Regions from separate parts of the Homo sapiens genome. Here regions 1, 2 and 3 are each linked to region 4. The links are contacts of gene promoters, found by promoter capture Hi-C in blood cells and fetal thymus (Javierre and others, 2016). All regions are on one chromosome and are shown on one strand. Each heading gives the region's core, a stretch centred on a gene start or on the middle of the fragment in contact. The rest is flanking DNA. Distances are from core to core; before and after follow the strand shown. Region 1 overlaps LRRK1-AS1 (LRRK1 antisense RNA 1). Region 2 has its middle 49 kb from the start of PCSK6. Region 3 overlaps PCSK6 (proprotein convertase subtilisin/kexin type 6). Region 4 holds the start of SNRPA1 (small nuclear ribonucleoprotein polypeptide A').

Region 1 (3,243 bases), core at 584-3,083, 170 kb before region 4:
ACATGAATCTTCATGGGAGCATGATTCACAATGGCCAAAAGGTGACAATAACCCAAATGCCTAGCAGCTGACGAATGGAGAAGAAAATCTGGTATAGCCATACAAGGGAATATGATTCAGGAAGGAAAGCAAAAGGAAGGGAATTCTGACATGCTACAATATGGAAGAACCTTGAAAACATTACGCTAAGGGAAAGAAACCAAATGCAGAAGTCACCTATTATATGATTTCACTTCTATTAAATTCTGAGAATAGGCAAATCCATGAAGACATAGACTAGTGGCTGCCCAGGGCTGAGGGAAGTGAAGAGTGACTGCTCGTGGTATGGGGTTTATTTTTCAGGTGACAAAGATATTCTAGAATTAGATAGCAGTGAAAGCTGTACAACCTTGTGAGTACGGTTAAAGGAAAAAGAAAAAGCAAACACTGAATTGTATACTTTAAAACAGTGAATTTTATGGTATATCAATTATATTTCAGTAAATGAGACAAAACATCTGCAAAAGATAAAACTTGGGCAACTACTATATTTTCTCTAATATTTAATTTTCTTGATTTGTTCCTTAGTTTTAAATTAATAATTTAAAAAGAACATGTTTCCAATTTTAAATATATCATTCCAATGTAGTAAAATATTTCATATATGAACTAAAATGTCCCCTCACCTTGCAGTTTGTGCTCTTGTACTGTTTTTTGGGGTTGTTAGTTTGTTTTTGAGACTGAGTCTCACACTGTCACCCAGGCTGGAGTGCAGTGGCGCGATCTCGGCTCACTGCAACCTCTGCCTCCTGAGTTCAAGGGATTCTCCTGCCTCAGACTCCCGAGTAGCTGGGATTACAGGCGGCTGCCACCACGCCCAGCTAATTTTTTGTATTTTTAGTAGAGACAGGGTTTCACCATGTTGGTCTGGCTGGTCTTGAACTCCTGACCTTGTGATCCGCCCACTTCGGCCTTCCAAAGTGCTGGGATTACCGGCAGGCATGAGCCACCGCTCCTGGCCTCTTATACTGTTTTAAATGTTAAACACAAACAAGACTTCAATGGTCACACAGAATACAGAATTGAAGTAACTTAAGTTCCGAATCTTCCTCTTTCCGATCACTGTGCTATTGTTGCTTCGTCAAATCTGCTGTTTAAATGTAGGAATTCACAGCACCCTGGGGCACTGGAGACGTGAATGATGTCCAAAGTGGCTTCAGACGGCTCACAACTTACTTTTGAAAAGCACATTTCTGGACCGACTTTATACCTGGGAGTTCTGAAATTAACTTTCACTTGGAATACAAAGCTTATCAAAGGATAATAAATAAAATCATGTTGATTTGAAGTATATATATATATACATAAACCCTCACAATTGTTTAGAATTTAGATCAACAAAATATTTTCCCTGGCAGGAGTATTTAATCATGCCTGGTAATTAGAAAAACAAACAACAGCAACAAAAACACCAGTCGTCTGACTTAGTAGATTTTATTATTGTGACTTCAGTGACAGTGTGTCACCTCGCTGCCTGAACCCAGGCCCACAGCTCCCACTACCCCGCCCTCACTTTCTATTTCCCTAGCGCTTTGAAGATTCCATTTTACCCACCGCAGGAGAACATTATGAGGCTAGGTAATATAATCCCCATTTGACAGATGAGAAAGCAGGGGGCCCAGAGAGGCTTATCCAAGGGCCAGCAGGAGGGGACAGAGCCTAGAAGCTGGTTCTGCAGGGCTCAGCTCCCACTTCTCAGGGCACAGTCCCGACTAGCCCCTCTTATTAGTGACCGTGGGTGGGTCTACTCCCCACAGTTCCGGCTGCCAGACTTACCCAGGCTGTGCCTCATCCTCGCAGTACCTACCTGCTCTCAGCTTGGAAAGAACCTGGAAATTCATTCACACCCAGGTTCTGAGGGCTGCTAACAGGCTTCTTTCCCAAGAGGTAATTGCCTTTATCAAAGAGGGTGCTCTTTAATGAGCTGAAAGAATGCCTCTGCAAGTCGGGCCTCCTCCCTAGGCTGCTGGGATCACTGGTACACATCTGTTCTCCCCCATCTCACCTCAGGAGTAGTTTGCTCCCCAGGGAGGAGCCCTGCCTGAGAGTAAATCCAAAGAGACGTCCCACAGTTAACTCAGCCTCAAAAGCATTTGGAGTTGCAAACTAAATGACATAGTCTCATGACTTGTGTCTGATTCTGTGGATCTAAGAAAATCCAGTTTCTCCCTAACTAACGCCAGCATCCTACAGCCTAGCCTCTGCCTGGTGAACACAGACAGCCTTGCCGGGGCCTGGCAGAAGGAGTGCTAAGAGGACAGGGCCTCACAGACCCTAGAAGTGGGTCTCACCCTTCTCAGCTCACTCAGATGCTTTGTCTCCAGAGTTCTCAGATTTACAAAGCTTAATGAGTGCCAATTTACTCATTATTGTCCTCCCAGGCCTCACAACGCATTAAAATCCTTCTGCACAGACAGATTAGGAGACAAGCCTAAGGAAAACGTACATCTGCTTTAAAAAAAAAAAAATGCAGTTTCAGGTTCCACTTTACATCAGCCAGGGTTTAGTTACAGGAAACAGAAACCACTCTAACAATTTTAAGCAAAAAGGGGTTTAGACAGGAAATTAGGGGCTTACCGTTTTATTGAGAGGCATGGGCCAGGCCTATTGGCGTGGTGCCCGGAAAAAGGCCTGGGGACCAGCCGGCTGGGCTCTGCTAGCCTGACTCCACTCAGCCAGGTGGGGGTCGGGAGGCTCCCAGTGCTGTACCATACCTGCCTCTTGACCCCACAAAGGGACTGAATGGACCCTGGAACGCTGCCACAGGAAAAACAACCACCACAACTTTGCTCGCCAGCAGAAACGGCCAAAAGCAGCAGGAGGAGAGTCTTGGCCTCTGAATCATAGTGGTGTGCGAAGAATTGGCAGGACTATGGATGTGCTGGAGCTGGCTCAGCCTAGTGACAGCCAACGGTGCACGGCAATTCCAATTCCAGGTCCAGGGACACCAGGGGATAGCAAGATTGAAATTGACCACAGTGGATATATTTACACCATGGAAATCAGCAAGCACTAACAGCCGGGTTGCTTTTGTTTTGTGTTGTTTTTTTGTTTTTTTTTGAGAGCTGGTTGTTAAACATTGACCACCGGGCATAACCCATTTCACATTTAGAACTCTAGCGGCAAGGGAAGCGGGAAAAGCAGTGGCTCACCTTCCAGCCTTTGAAGGAACAGCGAGGAGAGCACACAGAATGCTAGCTGCCA
Region 2 (3,076 bases), core at 577-3,076, 240 kb after region 4:
CATGGCGGGCGGAGGCCGAGAAGCACTTGGCAAGCTAGCTGGTCCCATCTCTGGATCCTAAGACATTCCCTTCTGCTGTTATTCCCAGCTGAGGAAGGCCGCCGGGATCAGTCGATCACTTGTGTTCCTAAAATGTGCTGCCTGCAGATGCCGTTCTGACAAATCTGCAGGGGCCACAGTGAAGCTCTGCAGGCTTGCCTTCTGCCTCTGGGGATGGCACTCTCATCCCATCCTGGAGTTACTGCCCGGGCTCCCCTCTCATGCTGGCCCCACCTGTGCCCCAAACACAGCACTCCTTACACGGCCCTCTCCCTTGCCATCTGATGGCTGGATGATCAGGAGGGAGCTTCTGAGGGCTGCCTTTCCATGCCATTTAATGGGGAAGGAAGGGGCTTTCTCTCCACTTTTTCTTGCTTCCCATTTAGTGTGTTCTTTCCATTTACACAATGTGTTCTCCAATCTTGGATAGCTTCTGTTCTTATTTAAACTTTTTAAAAAGGGATTCATACTCAACATACAAATGAGGAATGCAGCTGAAACTGGGAGACGTGAGGAGAAGCTTTTTTTTTTCAAGTCAGTGCAAATATTTTTGGAATTTAATTTTCCTTAGAAAAAAATGCCTTGCAGACAGAGCGTCTGCATCCTGTGTTTGAGCACCAGTGGTCTCTGGTGTCTTTATTTGTAAACTCAACATGATGATATATGACCTCACAAACCCTGACTTCCCCCCTAGCAAAATTAGAACAGTGGCTCCTCTCTTCCTCCAGCCAGTACTTCCCCTCTCCTTCCCCCTCTCTTCCTCATGCCTCTACCCTTTCCTCCCTTTCATCTTCTTGTTTGGTTGTGGGCAAATATGATGACACCCTTATAGGAAAGACTTAGAACTAACAGACAAGGAAAGTCTATAAAGCAAGCCTGTGCCACTTAATTGCAAAGCACATTTCAGCCCAGGCATTCTGAAGGGACACAGACAGAGGAGAAATGCTATCCACTCAGAGAAAGCAGAGATACAGGAGAGCAGTATGAAAGGCAGGCCACCATGCCACCATGTATGTTCAGCCTCTGGGACATAGTCTTCTTACTGGACAGATGGTTAAAATGGTGGCAGATAAATAAATCTCCTTTCCAAGTCATTCAGGCCAACCCCAGGAGGATCAAGCCATATATATGCCTTGTGGAGGGACCATCTTCCCTTGTGACCAGTGCTGTCTGGCCAGCAGCTGTCCCCATTACTGTCCCCAGGAAACCCCAGGTTGGGGGTGAAGGCAGCCAACAGTTTTCACGAGGTGGGTTGTGGTGATAGGGCCCTTGGGCAGAGCCATGGTCTACCATCTTTTGATTTTCCCTCATGGATGTTGTAAAACCCTTAGAGTTCCAACCACAAGTTATTGGTTAAACGATGATATTTCCATACGTGTGTGAACCATACAGCTATTCAAAGTGAGTACTGGCATGGTTAACCATTAATAATGCGTTTGGGAAAAACACAGGCTAGAAAACACATCTTTAGTGATAAAAGTCAGAGAGTGTGCAAGCGTGGGGAAAAGGGTGGGTATTGACCAGCAAGGGGCATAGGGAACCCTCCAGATGCCAGAAATGTTCTCTGTCTTGATGGGTGGGGGGATACAAAGGATTATAGACTTATCAAATCATTGAGCTGTATACTCAAGATTTGAGCCCTGCATTGTGTGAATGTTATACCTCAATAAAAGGGAAGCTGTAAGTGTAGCATGAAAATATTATGAAATTTTAACATGGCAGATTGTGTTTTCCAAAAATGGCCATAGCAGTATTTCTGGTCCTGAATGCATTTCCAGAACTCTGCCACTCTCTGTCCGAAGGCGGAGTGTCTCTTCCCTCCCCTTGAGCCTGGCAGGTCTCTGCAACTTTCAGCTAAAATGAGGTGGTAAAGGAGACGCCCATTACTCCTGAAGTTAGGTCAGAAAAGCTGCTTTTGCCTGGCTCTCTCTATCTCTTGGGACACTTGCCCTCGGAACCCAGCCACCATGTTGTGAGGAAGCCCTGGCCGCTTGAAGAGGCCAACAGCACCAACTGGCCACCAACACCCAGCACTGGCCTGAACGAGGCTTCAGATGATACTGACCCTCCTAGTGTCTCTGCTGAGACCCCAGACGTTACTGGGCAGAGAAGAACCATCCCCATTGCACACAACCAAGTTCCTCTCATAGGATAATAGATGGTGGTTTTATGCCACTCTGTTTTGGGGATAGTTTGTTACACAGCTATTGTAACTGGAAGTGTGTGCACATGTACGTGCATGCTTATGCCCACACACAGGAAAATTTCTGAATATCTGGACAGAGGAATTGGAGTTGCTGTTCATTTGTTTTCGCCTATTCTCTAATGTTTCACCAATAAGCTGGTACTATTCATGTAATAAAAATAAAACTGAAACAACGTGAATAAACTTCTCAAATGGAAACAGGACCGCGGCGGGGATTCAAGCATACTGTGCCAGGTCAGCCTGTGCCCTGCTGCCCTCCGGGCGCTGGGACAAGTCCATGGAAGTGTTGAGAAGGACGGAGTGAGCTCTGGCCGAGAGGACGCTGCTGCAACCCTGCTTCCAGCTGGAGTGGCTTCTGCACCTGTGTTTGTTGAACAGCAAGCAGCCTTCGTGGAAGGGGTTCGGGTGCGTGTGTCTGTGTCTGCAGAGGTGGAAGGGGGCCCCTGGTAGGCCAATAATGCATTCCTGGCAAAACTTTTTCTCTCCAGATTCCAAAAATCAAATTAATTAAGGGGTAGCCTCGAACGCTACCTCTAAGAACAGTATTAAAATATTCATATAAACGCCCACATCTTGAGTTTTAGGAATGCAAATCACCGGGTGATGATTCAAAGAGACTTCAACACAAAATACAGTGTGTTCCACATGCCCCTGGCCATGAAATAATAACAGTCAGGTCCAGGGCCTGCCTTGCAGTATGTGGAGAAGCAACGGGCCCTGGCCACTGATTCCTGAAGCCAGGGTGGTGTCTTGTACGGACACTTCATTATCCCTGTCCCTGCCTCCCACTTCCTAAAGCTCCCTCTAGCATCCCACCCTCTGCAGTGTTCA
Region 3 (3,268 bases), core at 181-2,680, 170 kb after region 4:
GCCCTTTCTCCACAGACTCACCCACATCCTGCGCCACCTGGGCCCATAAAACAAGGCAGACCCCAAGGCACAGGAACTGCGTCAGAAGGAGATGTCCACTGTGTGGGGGCAGGAGCCTGGGAGGTGGGCTCCAAGCGGGACGAAATGCAAGTAGGTCATATGTACCCACACGTGTGGACAAGGTGGTTCCCTCACAATTTGGTCATTTAATGTGAACCTTGAACATCGAGGGGTGTGTATAGTCTACAAGATTGGCTAATCCAAGTCTAGAATTAATAAAAACCAATCGCTGATGAGGTCAGTATGCTGGACCTCCGGGACATCCTGCAGAGCTGTGGTTCTCCAGCCCCAGACGGTTTATTAAAGCCAGATTGTTGGGCCCTCTCCCGGAGTCTGTGATCGAGCAGGCTGTGGTGGGGTCCAAGGATTTTCATTTCTAACAAGGTCCCAAATGTAGCTGCTGCTGGTCTGCTGGGAATGCAGGGAAATGGGAGGCTGGAGGGATCTACTGCGTGACACCCTGTTAAGCCACCTGGCCTATACTCCCTGGGGAGGCCTGGAGCTGGTCTCCTCACCAAGGGGTTAGGAAAATGCCTGGGGGAGGGTCAGCGTCCTCCTAAAGAAGTCCATGGAGGCTGTCCGCTCTATCCCGCCGGTGACAAGGGATGCTCCCACAGCACCAGGTTCCCACTCTCCACGGGAACTGCGGGATCCTGGGTAGTAGGGGCCAGCGGCGGGCATACCAGAGTGATCACCTAAGCAAGGGGACAGAGGCTACTCAGTGTACTTGACTCGCAGGACCTGGGGAGAGGCTCCAAGATGAAAAAGAGGGCAAGCCTGATCAGATGCCGCTTGACACACAGAAGCTGGGACCTACTGGGTCTGCTGAGCAGAACCATAGTGGGGATTTGCAACATCATCCAGTGTCCAGACCAATGACGGGGAGGCTGGGACCCTTTAAGAAAGGGCCCTGCGAGGGGCAATCAGCGTGTGTGGTGAGCCTGTCCTCAGCCTGTCCTCACACGTTCCCCAGACTCGCATGGCCACTTGTTGCCAGGCGGCTGTGTGCTGGGGACAGGGACACACGCTGACCTCCCACTGGCTACTAAACACAGGCCCTAAACCCGCACTGATTCTACAGCCCTGATGTGCTACTGAGACGCACAGGTCCTGAGCTGGGTGGAAACAGCACGTCTTGTTCTGCTCATGGAAACAGGACCATCTGATGGTACGTCCAGTGCAGCTCAGCCCCTCCTGAGGTCATTCCCCAGCTCCAGAGCAGAGTGTGCGGACACACCCAGGAACGGCTGAGGCTCCACTCTGGCTCTGAGCTGGCGGGATGAGGGCTATTAGAAGAGGACAGAGGGGCCACCTGTTGCCTTCTGAGACACTGACTAGCACTAGAGGAGATCTTTCTGACTGTGGGGTAGGAAGGATTTCTTAAACAAGAACAGAGGAAGCGCTAACTGAAGGAAGACAATGGTGTCCTAAGAGATGGGGCCGTGAGGGGGACATTGGTAATGATCTAAGGCACCTGAACTACACGTGATGCCGCACGGTATTACTTCAAGGTGGACTTAAATCAGTTAAGTATGAACTGTATTGTAATCTTTAAGGAAACCACTAAAAAAATTTTAAGAGAAGTATAATCGACACATTAAGCAAGGAGACAAAATGGAATTATCTAAAAGGCTCAATGAAAACCAGAGAAGGCAGAAAGGAGTGGGGTTGGGGAGGGGCAGGGGTGCGGAGAACAAATGTAACAAACAGAAAAGTTACAAACACGGTAGATACTGATCCAACAACGCCAGCAAGGACTTTAAATGTGAATGGTCTCAACACACCAATCAAAAGACAGAGAATGTCAGAGTGGATTAAAAAAACAATGTCCGTGCTCCAAAGGACACCATCAAGAAAGTGAAAAGACAACCCAGAGAAGGATGACAATGACTGCAAGTCACGTGTCTGATAAAGGACTCGTATCTAGAATATACAACAATAAAAGCCACATAAACCCACTAAACATGAACAAAAATCTGAGCAGACGGTTCTCTAAAAAAGAGACACAAATGACCAAAAAGCACAGGAACATACGTTCAACGTCATTAGCCGTAAGGGAAATGCAAACCACTCCATCTATGAGATGGGTGCAGAAAAAAAGACGCATCATCACAAGTGCTGATGAGGATGTGGTGACACTGGAACCCTCAGACATGGCTGGTGAGACCGTGAAGGGTGGGTCCACAGCCTGGCAGTTTCTCAGAAATGTAAACATAGAGCTGCCATATGACTCAGCCACTCCACAGCTAGATAAGCTCCCTAGAAAGGTAAAAACATACGTCCACATACAACTTGCACGTGAATATCCACAGCAGCGTTATTCACAACAGCAAAAAACCTGGGAACAACCTAAATGTCCATCGGTTGATAAATGAGCAAACACAATGTGGGCAATTCATTACAGTGGAATGTTATCTGGTGATAAAAATCATGACATATTAATACATGTTATAAAATGGATGAACCTTGAAAACATGCTAAGTCAAAGAAGCCAGATACAAAAAGACCCTATTATTACTGTATGATTCCATTATATGAAATGTCCAGAATAGGCAAATCTAGAGAGACGGAGAGTAGATGAGTGGCTGCTTAGGGTTAAGGGAGTGGGGTAGATGGGGACTGACTGCTAAGACGGGGATAGCATTTCTTTCTGGGGTGATGAAAATGTTATCAGATGGGGTGCGGGGACAGTTGTACAACTCTCTGAATGTACCAAAACCCACTGAGCTGCATGCTCTAGATAGGTGCATCCTATGTGAATTATAACTTAACAGAATTGTTATTAAAAGAGAATAAATTTTTATATACAATTATGTAAAAGTTAACTCTCCAGTTTAATCAGAAGACACCCCATACAGGTAAAAAAAATTCATAAACTGGGAAACACGGTTTCCCACTCCTGTTAACTGACAAAGGATTCATATGCCGTATATGTACACCCAGTAATCCCAATTCTAGGCACACACCCCAAAGAAACTCTGGCATTTGTGTACTAGCGGTCTTGTATAAGGCTGTTCTTAGCAACAATTCTTTTTTTTTTTTTTTCAAGACAGAGTCTCGCTCTGTCGCCCAGGCTGGAGTGCAATGGCACGATCACGGCTCACTGCCACCTCTGCCTCCCAGTTCAAGCAATTCTCCTGCCTCAGCCTCCCGAGTAGCTGGGACTACGAGTGCCCACCACCACACCCAGCTAATTTTTTGTATTTTT
Region 4 (3,322 bases), core at 572-3,071:
GCTGATATAGGCAGCTAACATTTATAAGAACATTTACAAGGTGCCTCACACTGTCCTAAGTCGTTTGGGCTAGTTAAGCGGAATCGGCACAACAGGAGTTTACACTTGGAGCTGCTTAGTCTCAGTGCCCAAACGGCGTTCAAACATTGTGGACGACAGTTCTCCACTCTTGCATCTCCACAGGCCAGATTCTTAGAACCCATCAGAACAGCCTCAACATATCACGACAGTTCTCCCTCCCCTCCCCCAGCTCCAATTCAGAATTGAAGATCAATGGTTTAAATACAGTAATAAATCTGTGAACACTCAAATGTTAATTTGTCTAATTTGGGCATAATTATTGTGTTAGGCACTATAAGAAAAGAAATATTCCGAAGAAGCAAGGTCTACTAAAAAAAGAACTTACCCAAAGTTAAAGGACACAATTCAGAGCTGTACTACACGTACTGCATCAAAATACGTATTCTCAACACTGCACATGCTCCATAAAGAGAAATGGCAGAGATCATCAAAAGTGGTGAGTTGGGCCGGGCGCAGTGGCTCAAGCCTGTAATCCCAGCACTTCGGGAGACCAAGGCGGGCGGATCACCTGAGGTCGGGAGTTCGAGACCAGCCTGACCAACATGGAGAAACCATGTCTTTACTAAAAATACAAAAAATTAGCCGGGCGTGGTGGCGCATGCCTGTATTCCCAGCTACTCGGGAGGCTTGAGACACAGGAATCACCTGAACCGGGGAGGCGGCGGTTGCAGTGAGCCGAGATCACGCCACTGCGCTCCAGCTGGGGCGGAAAGAGCGAGACTCCATCTCAACACAACACAACACAAAACAGTGGGATTTCCCAAAGGTCGGCAAGAAATCTAAGCAGATCCCGCAGCGATGCTGCTCCGAGGCCATAGGTCCCCATGGGAACAAATCTCAGGCTACGACAGCATGGTCTTATCCTCAGAGAAGTTGCTCTATCACGTCCCTTTTAAAGCCGTCTCCTGAAATGCCAACTAGCTAGCTGCCCTCCCAGTATCTTACCAAGTCTTGCTAAGGTTGAAATAGTACAGGAATCTGAATAATTGCGAGCGCTTCCACAACTTACACACAGCACCCGGCGGTGCAAGCCTGGGTGACACAGTTCAATTTTTAAAACGTCTTCATATAGGGGAAACGCCAGACAATTAAAGCTACTAAGTAGAAAATACTGGAGGAAACAATCGCGGTTGTTCGGGGACTTAGTTTCCTCCCTCACATTAGGAATAATGAACACATATCCTATCTACGCTCAAAATATCATCTGGCGGCAAGTATTAAGAACCAATCCCGCGCCCTGCACTTGCGTTACAACCATTAATGAGCCGCTCTTCCGGGCCCTCAAACAGCCAGCGGCGAAACAGCCAAGCAAGGCCTAACAGGGCCCCACGAGGACGCACCAGGAAGTAATGAAGTCACCCGTGCCTGTCAAGAGGCACGGCGCTAACAGAAGGCTCCCAGGAGCTTAACCGGATGCTCATCTGGCAACAACGGCAAGAATCAGGCCCGGCGTTCCCTGCGCAGCCCGGTCGGAGCCCAGACAACCGGCCCGCGGGCCAAGCTCCGGCCTTCGGTGCACGCGGCAAAGCGCGGAAAATAAGGCGGCTCGGTGCCGCCTGGGGACTGGCCGCCCACGCCCCCGGACTCACCCCGGAGGTCCAGCTCCCGGTCGCGCACCGCGTTGGTGTACTGCGCCGCCTGCTCGATCAGCTCCGCCGTCAGCTTGACCATCCTGCAGCCTCCCGTTCCCCCGCGCTGTGGAAAGCCCGTGGCCTCCCGCCAGCGAGACGTCCCAGCGTGCCCCGCGCCCCGCCGCCAGGCAGCACCAATCGCAGCCGCCGAGTGCGCGCGCAGCTCGACCGCCAGGCCGAAGCAATCGAAGAGCCACGCCTCCGGGGGCGTTCTTGCCGGAAGTCGTGGCGCGCGCACAGGGGATGTGTCTCGTTCTGGGTTGTTTCCTAGGGTGTGTTTCGGAGTCTGGAGGACCCCTGATTCCAGACGTTGGTGTTTAAAAGTTAAGGCGAATGTGGAAACACCCGAGGGGAACTTTCTCATGCATTAGCGCACCTCGAGGTGGGAGGGGAAGCGGTGACTGTCCTCCCTCCACCAGCCGTCGCGGGAACCCGTGGGGTTCAGTGAAGGGTCCAGCAGTTCAGGTGCCCGCCCCGGGCCTGGGCCTTGGCTCCGGGCTACAGTGTGAGATCCCGGGCTAGGTGGCCCGCCTGGGGCAGGTCGCCGGGACAACCCCACCGCCCCGCAAGTCCAGCCCGGCCTCGGGCACGGTAGGGTTTGCGGTTAAGCTTGTGACCTTTAGACTTCTGAATATTCATATGTATGAAATGTGATATACATAAAAGTGTGCATATCAGGAATTTACAGTGATTAATGACCAGAGTGAACACAGCTGCGTAGCCGACACCGGGATCCAAAACACCGCTATTCTGAAAGCCTCCCTCTTTCCCAAAAGGCAACCGCGAACTCAACACTACAAATTCGGTTTGCTTGCTTTTGCTATAAATAGAATCATGCAGTATGCTTTTTTTTTTGGCCTAGTTTCATGGAGTCTATATTATGTCTGGAGTCCATCCAGGTTGCATACAGAGATGGTTTGTTTGCTTTTGCTGCTGAAGAGAATTCCATTGTATATATTATACCATAAATTACTTATTCTGCTGTTGATAGACATCAAAGTTGTTTTCAGTTAGGGCTATTCTGAGTAATGCTACTATGAATTTTCTGGTACGTGGTTCTGATGCACGTTTGCATGAGTTTGTCCTGGAGTGGGACTGCTGGGACATAGGGTATATCTATCATCAATAAGTAATGCCCAACAGTTATGCTAAGAGGCTGAAATAATATACACACTCCAGCGGTGTGTAAGGGTTTTCATGGCTTCCAGCTTCAGCCTTCTTGGCATTTTAACTCTATAACTTCAGCTATTCTGATGGGTGTGTGGTGGTATTGCACTACTGCTTTGCTTTGCTTTTCTCTAATAACTAATGAAGCTGAGAACCTTCTCATGTGTATGGTGCCCATTCTGATAGCTTCCTTGGTTAAGTGTTCTTTCGAGTCCCTGGCTCATTTTTTTTTTTTCCTTATGGAGTTGTCTGCCTTTTTTCTTATTGATTTGTGGAATTTCTTTATATATTAGGGATATGAACACACTCTGTGGCTTGCCTTTTCACTCTTAATGGTGTTGATGATTAGATTTTTTTTTTTTTTTTTTTTTTTTTTTTTTAGACAGGGTCTCACTCTGTCACCTAGGCCGGAGTGCAGTGGTGCCATCAGGACTCACTGCAGC

The links. The method cuts DNA at HindIII sites, captures the fragments that hold promoters and counts their contacts. A CHiCAGO score of 5 or more calls a contact.
Region 1: a fragment that was not itself captured here is called in contact with the fragment with the promoter of SNRPA1 in region 4 in 2 of 17 cell types (total B cells and naive B cells); the score reaches 6.6 in total B cells.
Region 2: a fragment that was not itself captured here is called in contact with the fragment with the promoter of SNRPA1 in region 4 in 1 of 17 cell types (M0 macrophages); the score reaches 5.6 in M0 macrophages.
Region 3: a contact is called between a fragment that was not itself captured here and the fragment with the promoter of SNRPA1 in region 4, in 2 of 17 cell types (megakaryocytes and M0 macrophages). The highest score is 5.6, in megakaryocytes.

The regions. Positions count from the first base shown.
Region 1 is chr15:101,125,108-101,128,350 of GRCh38, forward strand. All of the region lies in intron 1 of LRRK1-AS1 (LRRK1 antisense RNA 1), which reads right to left. Among named protein-coding and RNA genes, the nearest start is that of LRRK1-AS1, 25 kb to the right of the region's middle. RefSeq lists a silencer at 1,749-1,798 and enhancers at 2,089-2,138, 2,429-2,538, 2,749-2,918. The HindIII fragment of the contact is 1,094 bases long and covers 1,287-2,380 here.
Region 2 is chr15:101,537,147-101,540,222 of GRCh38, forward strand. No RefSeq gene overlaps it. Among named protein-coding and RNA genes, the nearest start is that of PCSK6, 49 kb to the left of the region's middle. The HindIII fragment of the contact is 2,539 bases long and covers 558-3,076 here.
Region 3 is chr15:101,464,185-101,467,452 of GRCh38, forward strand. The region is part of intron 1 of PCSK6 (proprotein convertase subtilisin/kexin type 6); the gene reads right to left. It overlaps LOC124903566, which reads right to left. Exons shown (of 2, transcript XM_047433427.1): 2 at 1-3,268. Among named protein-coding and RNA genes, the nearest start is that of PCSK6, 24 kb to the right of the region's middle. The HindIII fragment of the contact is 7,610 bases long and covers 1-3,268 here.
Region 4 is chr15:101,293,427-101,296,748 of GRCh38, forward strand. SNRPA1 (small nuclear ribonucleoprotein polypeptide A') reads right to left here and starts at 1,822. Exons shown (of 9, transcript NM_003090.4): 1 at 1,671-1,822. The coding sequence starts at 1,752. SNRPA1-DT (SNRPA1 divergent transcript) reads left to right here and starts at 1,922. Exons shown (of 2, transcript NR_186319.1): 1 at 1,922-2,303. RefSeq lists enhancers at 776-1,407, 1,971-2,020, 2,081-2,170 and a silencer at 1,551-1,740. The HindIII fragment of the contact is 2,362 bases long and covers 1-2,319 here.